Linked DNA regions of Homo sapiens: region 2 is linked to region 1. The links are contacts of gene promoters, found by promoter capture Hi-C in human tissues and cell types (Jung and others, 2019). All regions are on one chromosome and are shown on one strand. Each heading gives the region's core, a stretch centred on a gene start or on the middle of the fragment in contact. The rest is flanking DNA. Distances are from core to core; before and after follow the strand shown.

Region 1 (5,655 bases), core at 111-2,610:
CCGCCCTGAGTGAGCCTGTCCCCTCTCAGGGGCGCGCCCGAGTCGCTCCGGGTTGGCTGCGCCAGTCCAGAGTTAAACTTTCAGCCAATGAAAAAGGGCGCGAGGCGTGACGCACGGAAACGTCATGGGAATTCCCCCCTCCGGGGGGCCGAGAAGGGGCTTTCCCGGCCCTGAGCCCTGCTGGCAGGCGAGGTGTCGCGACCGGTCCCAGGTGGGTCGGGCGCGGAGAGAAGCCGCAACCAGAGCCGCCGCCACGGTGAGTGGCTGGATTCAGACCCCTGGGTGGCCGGGACAAGAGAAAAGAGGGAGGAGGGCCTTTAGCGGACAGCGCCTGGGGCTGGAGAGCAGCAGCTGCACACAGCCGGAAAGGGCGCGCAGGCGACGACACTCGGATCCACGTCGACACCGTTGTACAAAGATACGCGGACCCGTACGTACACCTGTACCTGTGCTGGCGCACACACGGCAGCGTCCGTGCAGTCGCACTCGCACACACATGCACACGGAGACGTGCCCACCGGTGCACTGGTGCCTGCACCCACACCCTTCACGCACAAACTCAAGATACGCTCACCCGTGTCCGTACATCAAGACAGGCGCTGACACACACCCACACTGAGAAGCTCGGGATTCACCTATCTACACACATGCTCGCTTGCACACTCATGTTGACGCCATGGACACACAACATGCAACCAAGCACTACAGCCGAAACACACTTGTGGAGCTGTGATGGAGACACACTCTTGTATTAGGTGGGGGGGGGGGGGGGGGAGCGTGCAGAGATCTCCCTGTCGCCTGCGCGCCCAGAACCGGTGCGGTGTGGGACCAGCTGCTGTTGTGAGGTTTGGGAGAGAGAGAAAAGAGCCCACTCCGAGGAGGAGACACTTTTCCCGCAGCCCCAGAATCGCGTTCTCGGGGCAGAACCCCGGGGCCTCCCACAGGAAAGAGCCCCCGCCTACAGGCTGTTCGAAGGGGAGGCCGTCCGACAGCAGGAATGTCCCCCCAAAAGCCCCCGGGGTTTATCAGCCGTGGCCTCCCTCCTGGCAGAAAATCCCAAGGTTGCTCCAGACCGGGGGAGGGGAGCGGGAGGCGGACTTGGCCCCAGACTGCCAGCCTCCTCCCGGCCGTGAAAGACCCTCCTGTTCCCTGCCCTGGAGGGAGGAGGGGGCTTAACCCCCACCGGGGCTTCCCGGATTCTCCTAGACCTCTGCCCGCTGAAAAGCAGCGGGAGCCCGTAGACTGTCGAGGGCCTCCCGCCCCTCCCGTCGCGAGGGCGGGGCCAGTGGCGTCATTTCCAGGCCCGCCCCCTCCGGCCCCGCCTCCCCTTGGTATTTTCGGGACTTTCCTAAGCTGCTCTAACTTTCCTGCCCCTTCCCCGGCCAAGCCCAACTCCGGATCTCGCTCTCCACCGGATCTCACCCGCCACACCCGGACAGGCGGCTGGAGGAGGTCGGACCCTCCCCCAAATCTGGGCCCCCATCTCCCGCCCACCCCCATTTAGATCTGACCCCCTCCCCCACGCCACTCCTCCCAACTTTAGGCGGGCGTCTAAAATTCTGGGAAGCAGAACCTGGCCGGAGCCACTAGACAGAGCCGGGCCTAGCCCAGAGACATGGAGAGTTGCTACAACCCAGTGAGTCATGCCGCCTGCCCCTGACCCGGCCGGCTGCCCCTCGTGTCTGTCCACCTGTCTGCCCGAGCCCCCTCTGCTGCCTTACACCTGTATGCTCGCAGATGCTCTCAGCCTGCCAGTCTGTCCATCTGTCTGCAACTCTGCCTCCAAAAGGAGCTTTCTCTTGGGTCTGAGGAGGAGGGGGGAGTGACCACTGAAGACTTGGAGATGGGAGGTGGGGCTGTGGGGGGTGCTGAGAGTCGGATGCCACCCCCAGTCTGTCTCCAAACCAGGGTCTGGATGGTATTATTGAATATGATGATTTCAAATTGAACTCCTCCATTGTGGAACCCAAGGAGCCAGCCCCAGAAACAGGTCAGCAAGTTCACTAACCTCCCCTAGTCCTAAAGCGGGGGAGGGAGAGCATGTGCCCTCTCTCTGGGGGAGGGGCTGGGAGATCGTGGCTCAGCAAGGTCTCTCTGTCCCCAGCTGATGGCCCCTACCTGGTGATCGTGGAACAGCCTAAGCAGGTGAGTGAGCAAAAGGGAGGGTGTGGAATGGCTTCAGCTTTGGGGACAAATGGGGTAGTGGTAGCTGGCTGGCCATGGAGGAGCCATTGCCGAAGGAGGCCACAGGGGATTGGATGGTCACTGCTGCTGATCAGAGTGCTGTAGTTTGGTTCAGGGCTACTACCAGGCACTGCGGTCACTGCTGGCCTGGGTGGTCTTCCCTGATCACAATGCTACTATGCCCTTGGACCTTCAGAGAGGCTTCCGATTTCGATATGGCTGTGAAGGCCCCTCCCATGGAGGACTGCCCGGTGCCTCCAGTGAGAAGGGCCGAAAGACCTATCCCACTGTCAAGGTGAGCCAGGATGGTGCTGGAGGGTGGGCTAAGTGGACAGCATGCCCAAGGCCCTGACTGACAGTCCCTGCCTCTCCTAGATCTGTAACTACGAGGGACCAGCCAAGATCGAGGTGGACCTGGTAACACACAGTGACCCACCTCGTGCTCATGCCCACAGTCTGGTGGGCAAGCAATGCTCGGAGCTGGGGATCTGCGCCGTTTCTGTGGGGCCCAAGGACATGACTGCCCAGTAGGTGCCCTCTACGCCTGGCCCCCACTGGTATGCCCGTCTGCCAGTCCCAGGCCCCAGCCCACCTCCATGAGCTTAGCATCTGACCAAGGGGAAAGATGTAGGTTGGCCCCAAACCCAAGGGCCTAAGTAGAAACTCCAATGGCTTCCTTGAGGAAGTAAGGCTGAGCTGAGCCCTGGCAATGGGAAAGGTGCCTCAGGAAGAAAGAACTGCATGGCCAAAGGCCTCCGATTCTCTCTTCTCAGATTTAACAACCTGGGTGTCCTGCATGTGACTAAGAAGAACATGATGGGGACTATGATACAAAAACTTCAGAGGCAGCGGCTCCGCTCTAGGCCCCAGGGCCTTACGGGTATGGGTGCAGGGGGTGGGTCGGGTATGGGTGCAGGGGGTGGGTGGGTCATGGGAGGTGCTCATGGAAGGAGCAGGGAGGGAGAAGCCCAGGGGTCACACATGTACCTACTGCCCAGAGGCCGAGCAGCGGGAGCTGGAGCAAGAGGCCAAAGAACTGAAGAAGGTGATGGATCTGAGTATAGTGCGGCTGCGCTTCTCTGCCTTCCTTAGAGCCAGTGATGGCTCCTTCTCCCTGCCCCTGAAGCCAGTCATCTCCCAGCCCATCCATGACAGCAGTGAGTATCCTGATTGCCTGGGGTGCCAGGCCTGGTGGCAGAGGTGGCATGAGGGGTGACCTCAAGCTGTGCAGTCAAACAGACCCAGGTTTCAGAACCTGGCCCTGCCACATATGAGCTGAGTGATCCTGAGCAAGTCATTTCCCCCCCGAAGCTTCTGTCTTTAGTAAATGTGTATATTGGGTGTTTCCTGCAGCTCCAGGGGTTGCTGAGATAAGGAATACAAAGCCCCCAGCTTCTTAAATGTGGCCTTGGCTATTGCATCATCTCAACTAATCCATATCCCACTCCATAGAATCTCCGGGGGCATCAAACCTGAAGATTTCTCGAATGGACAAGACAGCAGGCTCTGTGCGGGGTGGAGATGAAGTTTATCTGCTTTGTGACAAGGTGCAGAAAGGTGAGACTGGAGCCCACTTTGGGCACCAAGGACATCGAGTATAAGACTGGGGCCAGGGAAGCTCTAGGGTAAATGGCCCCAGAGATTCCACCGGGAGCTGTGGCCAAGCTTCCGTTTTCCTTGTAGATGACATTGAGGTTCGGTTCTATGAGGATGATGAGAATGGATGGCAGGCCTTTGGGGACTTCTCTCCCACAGATGTGCATAAACAGGTACCCAGGGCTAGGGCCCGGGCCCGGGCTGGGGGCTAAATTAGGCTAAGGACTCACTGACACCCTGTGTCTCCCTGCACCCCCCAGTATGCCATTGTGTTCCGGACACCCCCCTATCACAAGATGAAGATTGAGCGGCCTGTAACAGTGTTTCTGCAACTGAAACGCAAGCGAGGAGGGGACGTGTCTGATTCCAAACAGTTCACCTATTACCCTCTGGTGGAAGGTGGAGCTGGGCTGAGGACCTCAGGGTGCTGGCGGGGGGCCAGGCTGGGCTAGAAGAAGGTCCCAAGAGCTAGATGTGGGGATGCATGAGCCAAGTCAGAAGTGCGAGGGTCCCAGGAGGTGCTTCCTAGGAGCCGGCCCTGAGGGCTCTTCTGGGAAGGGCCCCTGAGGCATGACACAATAACTGGGCTCAATCTCATTTTCCTCTGCCCCCAGACAAGGAAGAGGTGCAGCGGAAGCGGAGGAAGGCCTTGCCCACCTTCTCCCAGCCCTTCGGGGGTGGCTCCCACATGGGTGGAGGCTCTGGGGGTGCAGCCGGGGGCTACGGAGGAGCTGGAGGAGGTGAGGGGGTACTGATGGAGGGAGGGGTAAAGGTAAGAGAAGCTGTGGAGGAAAAAAATCTGGGGGAGGCCGGGCGTGGTGGCTCACGCCTGTAATCCAGCCCTTTGGGAGGCCAAGGCAGGCAGATTACCTGAGATCAGGAGTTCAAGACCAGCTTGGCCAACAGCGTGAAACCTCGTCTCTACTAAAAATACAAACATTAGCTGGGCATGGTGGCAGGCGCCTGTAATCCCAGCTACTCGGGAGGCTGAGGCAGGAGAATCGCTTGAACCCTGGGAGACAAGAGGTTGCAGTAAGCTGAGATCACACCACTGCACTCCAGGCTGGGCAATAAGAGCGAAACTCCGTCTCAAAAAAAAAAAAAAAAAATCTGGGAGAGTCATGGCTGGTGCCCGCTTCCCACAGCCCTGCCTGTATCCACAGGTGGCAGCCTCGGTTTCTTCCCCTCCTCCCTGGCCTACAGCCCCTACCAGTCCGGCGCGGGCCCCATGGGCTGCTACCCGGGAGGCGGGGGCGGGGCGCAGATGGCCGCCACGGTGCCCAGCAGGGACTCCGGGGAGGAAGCCGCGGAGCCAAGCGCCCCCTCCAGGACCCCCCAGTGCGAGCCGCAGGCCCCGGAGATGCTGCAGCGAGGTATGGACTCCGGGGCACGGGCGGTCGGGGCGCCGGGGCTGAGGACCTAGCCCTGACCCACGCCCTCTGTGGCCCGTAGCTCGAGAGTACAACGCGCGCCTGTTCGGCCTGGCGCAGCGCAGCGCCCGAGCCCTACTCGACTACGGCGTCACCGCGGACGCGCGCGCGCTGCTGGCGGGACAGCGCCACCTGCTGACGGCGCAGGACGAGAACGGAGACACGTAGGCAACAGAGGGCCTGGCGGACGAGGCGCGGGGTGGGGGCAGGAAAGGGACCGGCACGGAGGCGGGCTCTGCAGTTTTCGGACACGCCAGGCTTCAAGTCCGGCCTCGGTGTTCACAAGCTCTGTTCAAGCTGCTTGGTCTCTCCAAACTTCAGTTTGGTCGACCGTGCAAGGGGTACAGTCATAGCACTTACCTACCTCAAAAGGTGCTGCGAAACGTTAAGTGCAGGCACAGCGATGCCCTGGGCCACGTGCTGGGTTCCATGGGCCCCAGCGAGG
Region 2 (5,579 bases), core at 2,164-4,663, 130 kb before region 1:
AATGACTGAGATCACCCTGGCCTTGTAGGCCTTTTGGTCATTCTGCAAACCTTGAGGAGCTGAGGTGGTGCTGCTATCCTGACAGAGCCACATTTCCTGCCTGCTACTGAATCCAGATCCCATGCTTATTTTCTTCATGCTAACATGTCCCAAGATTTTACCTCAGAGACCATACCTGTGGTGAATGATGCAGTCTAGGAATTGTAGACTATTTAAGAGCTATCAAAGTTGAGTCTGACGCCTGATTTCCTTACGTCCTTGGGTCAGAAATCCAGCCAGATTATCTGCTCTTGGAACTAGTAAAACCAGAGTGTGTTCAGGAGCCATTTCTCTCATTGGTGGTAGGAACATCTCTGGGTGTTGCTAAGCTTTCCCCTGGAGTGAGAGGGAAGGGAGTAGTGTTTTCCAAGGCCAACAGCTGTGGCATGTCTTGAAATGGTGCCTGCCAAGGTTGCTACATTGTTCTTGGTTTTTAGCATATTACCTGCCTGAGAAAATGACAGAATAGACCTAAAATAGAGCATTTATGGTCTTCATATTGCTTCTGACCCCACACACAGTGCCGGCTCCCAGGAGCAGGTTTATGGGTCAGCTGTCCCTGTGGTCCTGGACTCTGCAACCCATGACTAATTTCTTGTTTCTTTTACGGAAACAAACAGATTTTTCTGATTGGCAGTGTCAGGAGGACTGCTTTCCTGGAAGCTTATTAATGGTAGGAGGCTGGGAAAGGGTTTTTAACTTGGAGAGAAAACTGAAGGGAATGTGCTTGTGTTAGATGACCAGTTAAGGTGTACCACTTAGATTGGAGGAGGGATAGCAGGAATTCTAGGACTTCTACCCAGTTTCTCATGAAACTGACTTGGACATGGTCCTTTTTTGCAAAGGGTTTCTGTTTGCATTTTTCTAGGCTTTCTGCTGGCTTGATTGGTAAGACTATCACTGTTGGAAATGGGTGGTTCATTGGACATTGTCAGTAAACCAAAATGATTTTTTTTTCTCTTTTTGTAGAAAGAATCTTTAAAATGTATAAGTACTACCTACACTACTCCTCCAGGAATATTATCTCATTATTGTGAAGGAAATAAGTCCTTTTCTCCAGTAAGGTTGGCTAAGTCCATACTAGTTTTTCTCACAGATGTATGTCATTGGACCACATTTACAGTCAGTATTTGCCTAAACTGTATGATGACTACAAGGTCTATAGCATTTAGAGTAATAAGATATTCTAATAATACCAAATTTGAAAAGAGGGTTGCTCTTGGAAGAAAAAGGGTGTCCAAGAGCAAAGTTTGCATACTGTTACTTTGGATAAAGCTTTAGCTTACCACCAGTGAGAGAGACTTGACTGCTGTCCCTCATTTGGTCTTGAAGTCCTCTCAGGACTCCTTTTAGATTATTCTGAAGGAGTTAAAACAGATGTGTGGTTACCAGGGGCTGGGAGGGGGTATGGAGAGTGACTGCTAATGGCTACAGGGTTCCTTTTTGGGGTAATGAAAATGTTCTAGAATTAGATAGTAGCGATGGTTGCACAACTTTGTGAGTATACAAGAAACCACTGAATTGTATACTTGAAAAGGATAATTTTATAGTATGTGAATCATATCTCAGTTTATAAAGGAGGCAAATGTAGGCTGCAGAAGTGATGGATTTGCCAGTTTTTTCTCAGGTCTCAGAACTGTGGAGGGAAGTCTCTGTAGTCACTGCTGTGCTTTGGACCCATTACCCAGCAAAGGCAGCATAAGGCTCTGTTCAGCTTCTGGCCCAGTTTGTCCTTTTATGTCTCTCTCATTAACTCAAGGAAGCACATGGCTTTTATATTTAAATTTATTCAAACTGTAATCTTTGACATTTGAGTTAGCTTTTAGTACAGTTTTGCATTTATAGTAATATATATTATGTATTTTCTCTATCCCCAAAGAATCCGTTTTAATCTTTTCCGGATGCAAATTTCAGGCTGTCTTGTCCCATCTTCCCTCTCTTGCTCTCTTTCCCCTCCCCCCACGGAGTGTGTTTGATCAGGTGTGGCAGGAATATCCACTGTCAAGCTGCGCCCTTTATATTAGTCAATATTATCCTTCTCCCCCCTCCCTGTCTGTCTGCCCCTTTGGGCTTTCCCAGTTGATTTATAATTTTGGAATTCTCATTGGAGTCTGTAATACAGTTTGTTCATTATTTAACCAAAACCTGTTTAATGAGCAGAGAGAGGCAATGTAAATGTTAGGCATGTTGCAGTGATGTACCTTTGTGCTTCTCAGAGCGGGTGGGTAGTTAACTCTGTGCTGCCTGCAGGGCTGGGGTGTCCTGGCCTTAGGGGCAGAAGGGCCACTGCCTCTCTCTTACATCTGCCCAAGCCCTGCCATGGGTTTAGATTCCAAAGACACATTTCCTTTTATTCTTCTAAGAATCTTTTGGGGCTCTTGCATATGGGAGTTATCTTCAGTCTCGCAGCTAGACCTTGTGGTAGGATCTGTGGCATGGGATGGGGCATGGAAGGGAAAGTGAAATATCAGGATACTTGATATTGCTCTTGGTTTTAGATCTGACAAGAGTAGACAGTTTATGGGAATGCTTCTAGCCAATATGGTCTGTGGTCTTTGATCTCTTTGTTCCCAGACTAGATAAATTCTTGCAAGCCTTAGTTCCCTTCATCCAGTATAGCTTTATGGAAAGGGCTATAGTCAGTTGTGAGTTGTGGTGTTTGGTTGTAGTCATTTGCCTCCAGATATAGTCTGTCTTTGTCCTTGGTCTTTAAACTTAGATCATTACAAAGAGATTCTTTTCCAGAAAATTTTTGGTTTAAAACAGGAGAGGAACAGTCTAAAAGTATCACAACCAGGCTAGGTGCAGTGACCCACATCTGTAATCTAGCACTTTGGGTGGCCAAGACAGCAGGATTACTTGAGGCTGGGAGTTCGAGACCAGCATGGGCAACATACCAAGATTCCCCCCATCTCTACAAAAATAAAAATAAAAAAAATTAGTTGGGTATGGTGGCGTACAACTGTAGTTCCAGCTACTTAGGCTGAGGCGAGAGGATCACTTGAGCCCAGGAGTTCGAGGTTACAGTGACCCATGATTGCGCCACTGTACTCTAGCCTGAGTGACAAGAGTGAGACCCTTTCAATGAATGAATGAATGAATGAATGAATGAAAGAAAGTATCACAACCAAAATCTTCTCTTATGGGATCATCTTTTAATGACTTACTTTAAAGCCTTCAGGGCCAGGGCTTGAGGAAGACTTCTTAGGGTGTGCGTGTGTCTATGTGCGTGTGAGGGTGTGGTGGTGAGGAGTTTGCCTTTGGAGATTTAGTCCCAGGTCTTTTTAGCTCTGAGGACCTAATGTCCAGTTTTGGTTATCAGGACTGGGGTTCTCAGTGTAAGACTAAGGTGGAGGGCCGGGTGCGGTGGCTCACGCCTGTAATCCCAGCACTTTGGGAGGCCGAGGCGGGCAGATCACGAGGTCAGGAGATTGAGACCATCCTGGCGAACACGGTGAAACCCCGTCTCTACTAAAAAAATACAAAAAATTAGTCGGGCATGGTGGCAGGCGCCTGTAGTCCCAGCTACTCGGGAGGCTGAGGCAGGAGAATGGCCTGAACCTGGGAGGCGCAGCTTGCAGTGAGCCGAGATCGTGCCACTGCACTCCAGCCTGGGTGACAGAGCGATACTCTGTCTCAAAAAAAAAAACTAAGGTGGTCTTGAGGCCCAGTATAGGTACCCATATTAACTATAACATTGTTCTAGCTTCTTAGACCTTTTCTTTTGGGGATTCTCCAAGATTTGGATTCCTTCAGGGCCTAGCTTATTGAGTTGCTTCTAACTGATATTTATTGACTATCTGGTATGTGCCAGGCATTTTTCTTAGGTACTTAGGAAGTGGGTCTGTAATGGTAAACAATCAGTCAGACTTCCTGCCCTCATAGCCACTGGTTTGACAGGACTAATGACTCTAGCTGATCATTCCAAAGCTAACATTTTGTAGCCTCTACTTTATGCTATATGGTCCCTATCAGGCATGGAATGGATGACCATGAGTGAGAGCAATCTGCTGCCAGCTTTTCTTATTCCTGCTCTTTCCTTAAGGAACAAGCCAAAGAAATAAGTAAAAACAATAGCTCATATTTGCTTATTTGGCTTTCACATGTAAAGCTGTTATGGCCAGAGTTTAGCTATTCCCAAAGACATTGGTGGGTTGCATAGCGTAATTCTGGGGGATAGGATATTTCTTTACAGAGCTTACTGGGACAGCAGGTTATGGCGTGCTTGAGTTTAAGAGGGAGAAGCACGTGCCAGGAGAAAGTGGATGTGTCAGGAGTTTATTTAAGTATAGTTTATCCTGGACAAACACACCTGTAGGGTACTGTCTGTCTCAAGCTTTGTGAATTCAGAGTCTGAGCTAGGAGGTTTGAGTCCATCTAACCTCCAGAGGTTTGCAGAGAACATTTAAACAGAGTCTGGAAGCCAACTTGGGAGGAACTATGACTTAACACCTGTCTGGCCTGGGCCTCTTAGCAGTAGCCGCTTAGGTAGAAAAGAAACTGTTTGAGAATGCCTGATACCTCAAGTTTAATCTGTTTCATTTGGAAAATGGGGAGGTGTAGAGAAAAGAGATTTTAGTAGTCATTGTCAGGAAAAAGATTGAATAAGAGTATATTATATGTGCCAGGCATGGTGGCTCACACCTGTAATCCCAGCACTTTGGGAGGCTAAGGCGGGTGGATGACTTGAGGTCAGCAGTTCGAGACCAGCCTGGCCAACATGGTGAAACCCTGTCTCTACTAAAAATACAAAAATTAGCCAGGTGCGGTGGCGCATGCCTGTAGTCCCAGCTACTCAGGAGGCTGAAGCAGGTGAATTGCTTGAACCCAGGAGGTGAGATTGCAGTGAGCTGAGATCGTGCCACTGCACTCCAGCCTGGGTGGCAGATCAAGACTCCATCTCAACAACAACAACAACAACAACAACAAAAGCGAGTATGTTATATGAAAAAAATTTGCTGGAGTCCTATTGATTAAGTGCCTACTTTTATTTTTTCCTACAGGGGTCTATAGTTTAGGGAGTAAAGTAATATATCATTATTAATCAGCATGAGAAGAAGGTTGAATGGGTCATCAGCTTTTGTTCCACTTGGAATTGAGCTTGTGAATTGTTCAAGGCCTAAGTAGGAACTAAAAGAACCAAATGTGATAAAATTTGGCAGACAAATTTTGTGAAGGGCTGAGTGTTAGGAAAGGCAATGGGCACACTTAAAAGTATCCATTTCCTGTGCCCTGTTTTACTTTCTTGGTTTATAATATAAAACTATAGTTGAGTAATACATTAGAATGTGACTTGAATTTGAGTCAGACTGACTTTGGCACCTTAGAATCTCTGTAACTTGAGTGGCCACAGACTTGTAGACATTTCAGCACAGTTAGAGTGAATAAAGGTACTGTGATTCTTTTTTTCCCCAGGGACTATTCATATTAAAAGGGTAGCTCCAAGAGGCCTATATTTTGATGACTTGATTTTGCCATTTCTTTTTACTGGGGCCTTCCCCAGATGATTTATGAATGCTCTTCATTTGACACTTTTAAAC

Evidence for each region. Contacts are between HindIII fragments. The study calls those that stand out against the background at their distance.
Region 2: a fragment that was not itself captured here is called in contact with the fragment with the promoter of NFKB2 in region 1 in 4 of the 25 tissues and cell types used here (liver, lymphoblastoid cells, mesenchymal stem cells and 1 more).

What each region holds. Positions count from the first base shown.
Region 1 is chr10:102,394,345-102,399,999 of GRCh38, forward strand. NFKB2 (nuclear factor kappa B subunit 2) reads left to right here and starts at 1,361. Exons shown (of 23, transcript NM_001322934.2): 1 at 1,361-1,452; 2 at 1,544-1,636; 3 at 1,909-1,990; 4 at 2,105-2,145; 5 at 2,381-2,479; 6 at 2,560-2,711; 7 at 2,958-3,064; 8 at 3,183-3,341; 9 at 3,637-3,741; 10 at 3,868-3,953; 11 at 4,041-4,179; 12 at 4,395-4,520; 13 at 4,944-5,153; 14 at 5,233-5,374. The coding sequence starts at 1,616. RefSeq lists silencers at 1-26, 4,937-5,256 and enhancers at 37-326, 1,377-1,426, 1,837-1,956, 3,428-3,722. The HindIII fragment of the contact is 8,929 bases long and covers 1-3,672 here.
Region 2 is chr10:102,262,562-102,268,140 of GRCh38, forward strand. The region is part of intron 3 of GBF1 (golgi brefeldin A resistant guanine nucleotide exchange factor 1); the gene reads left to right. Among named protein-coding and RNA genes, the nearest start is that of GBF1, 20 kb to the left of the region's middle. The HindIII fragment of the contact is 6,652 bases long and covers 88-5,579 here.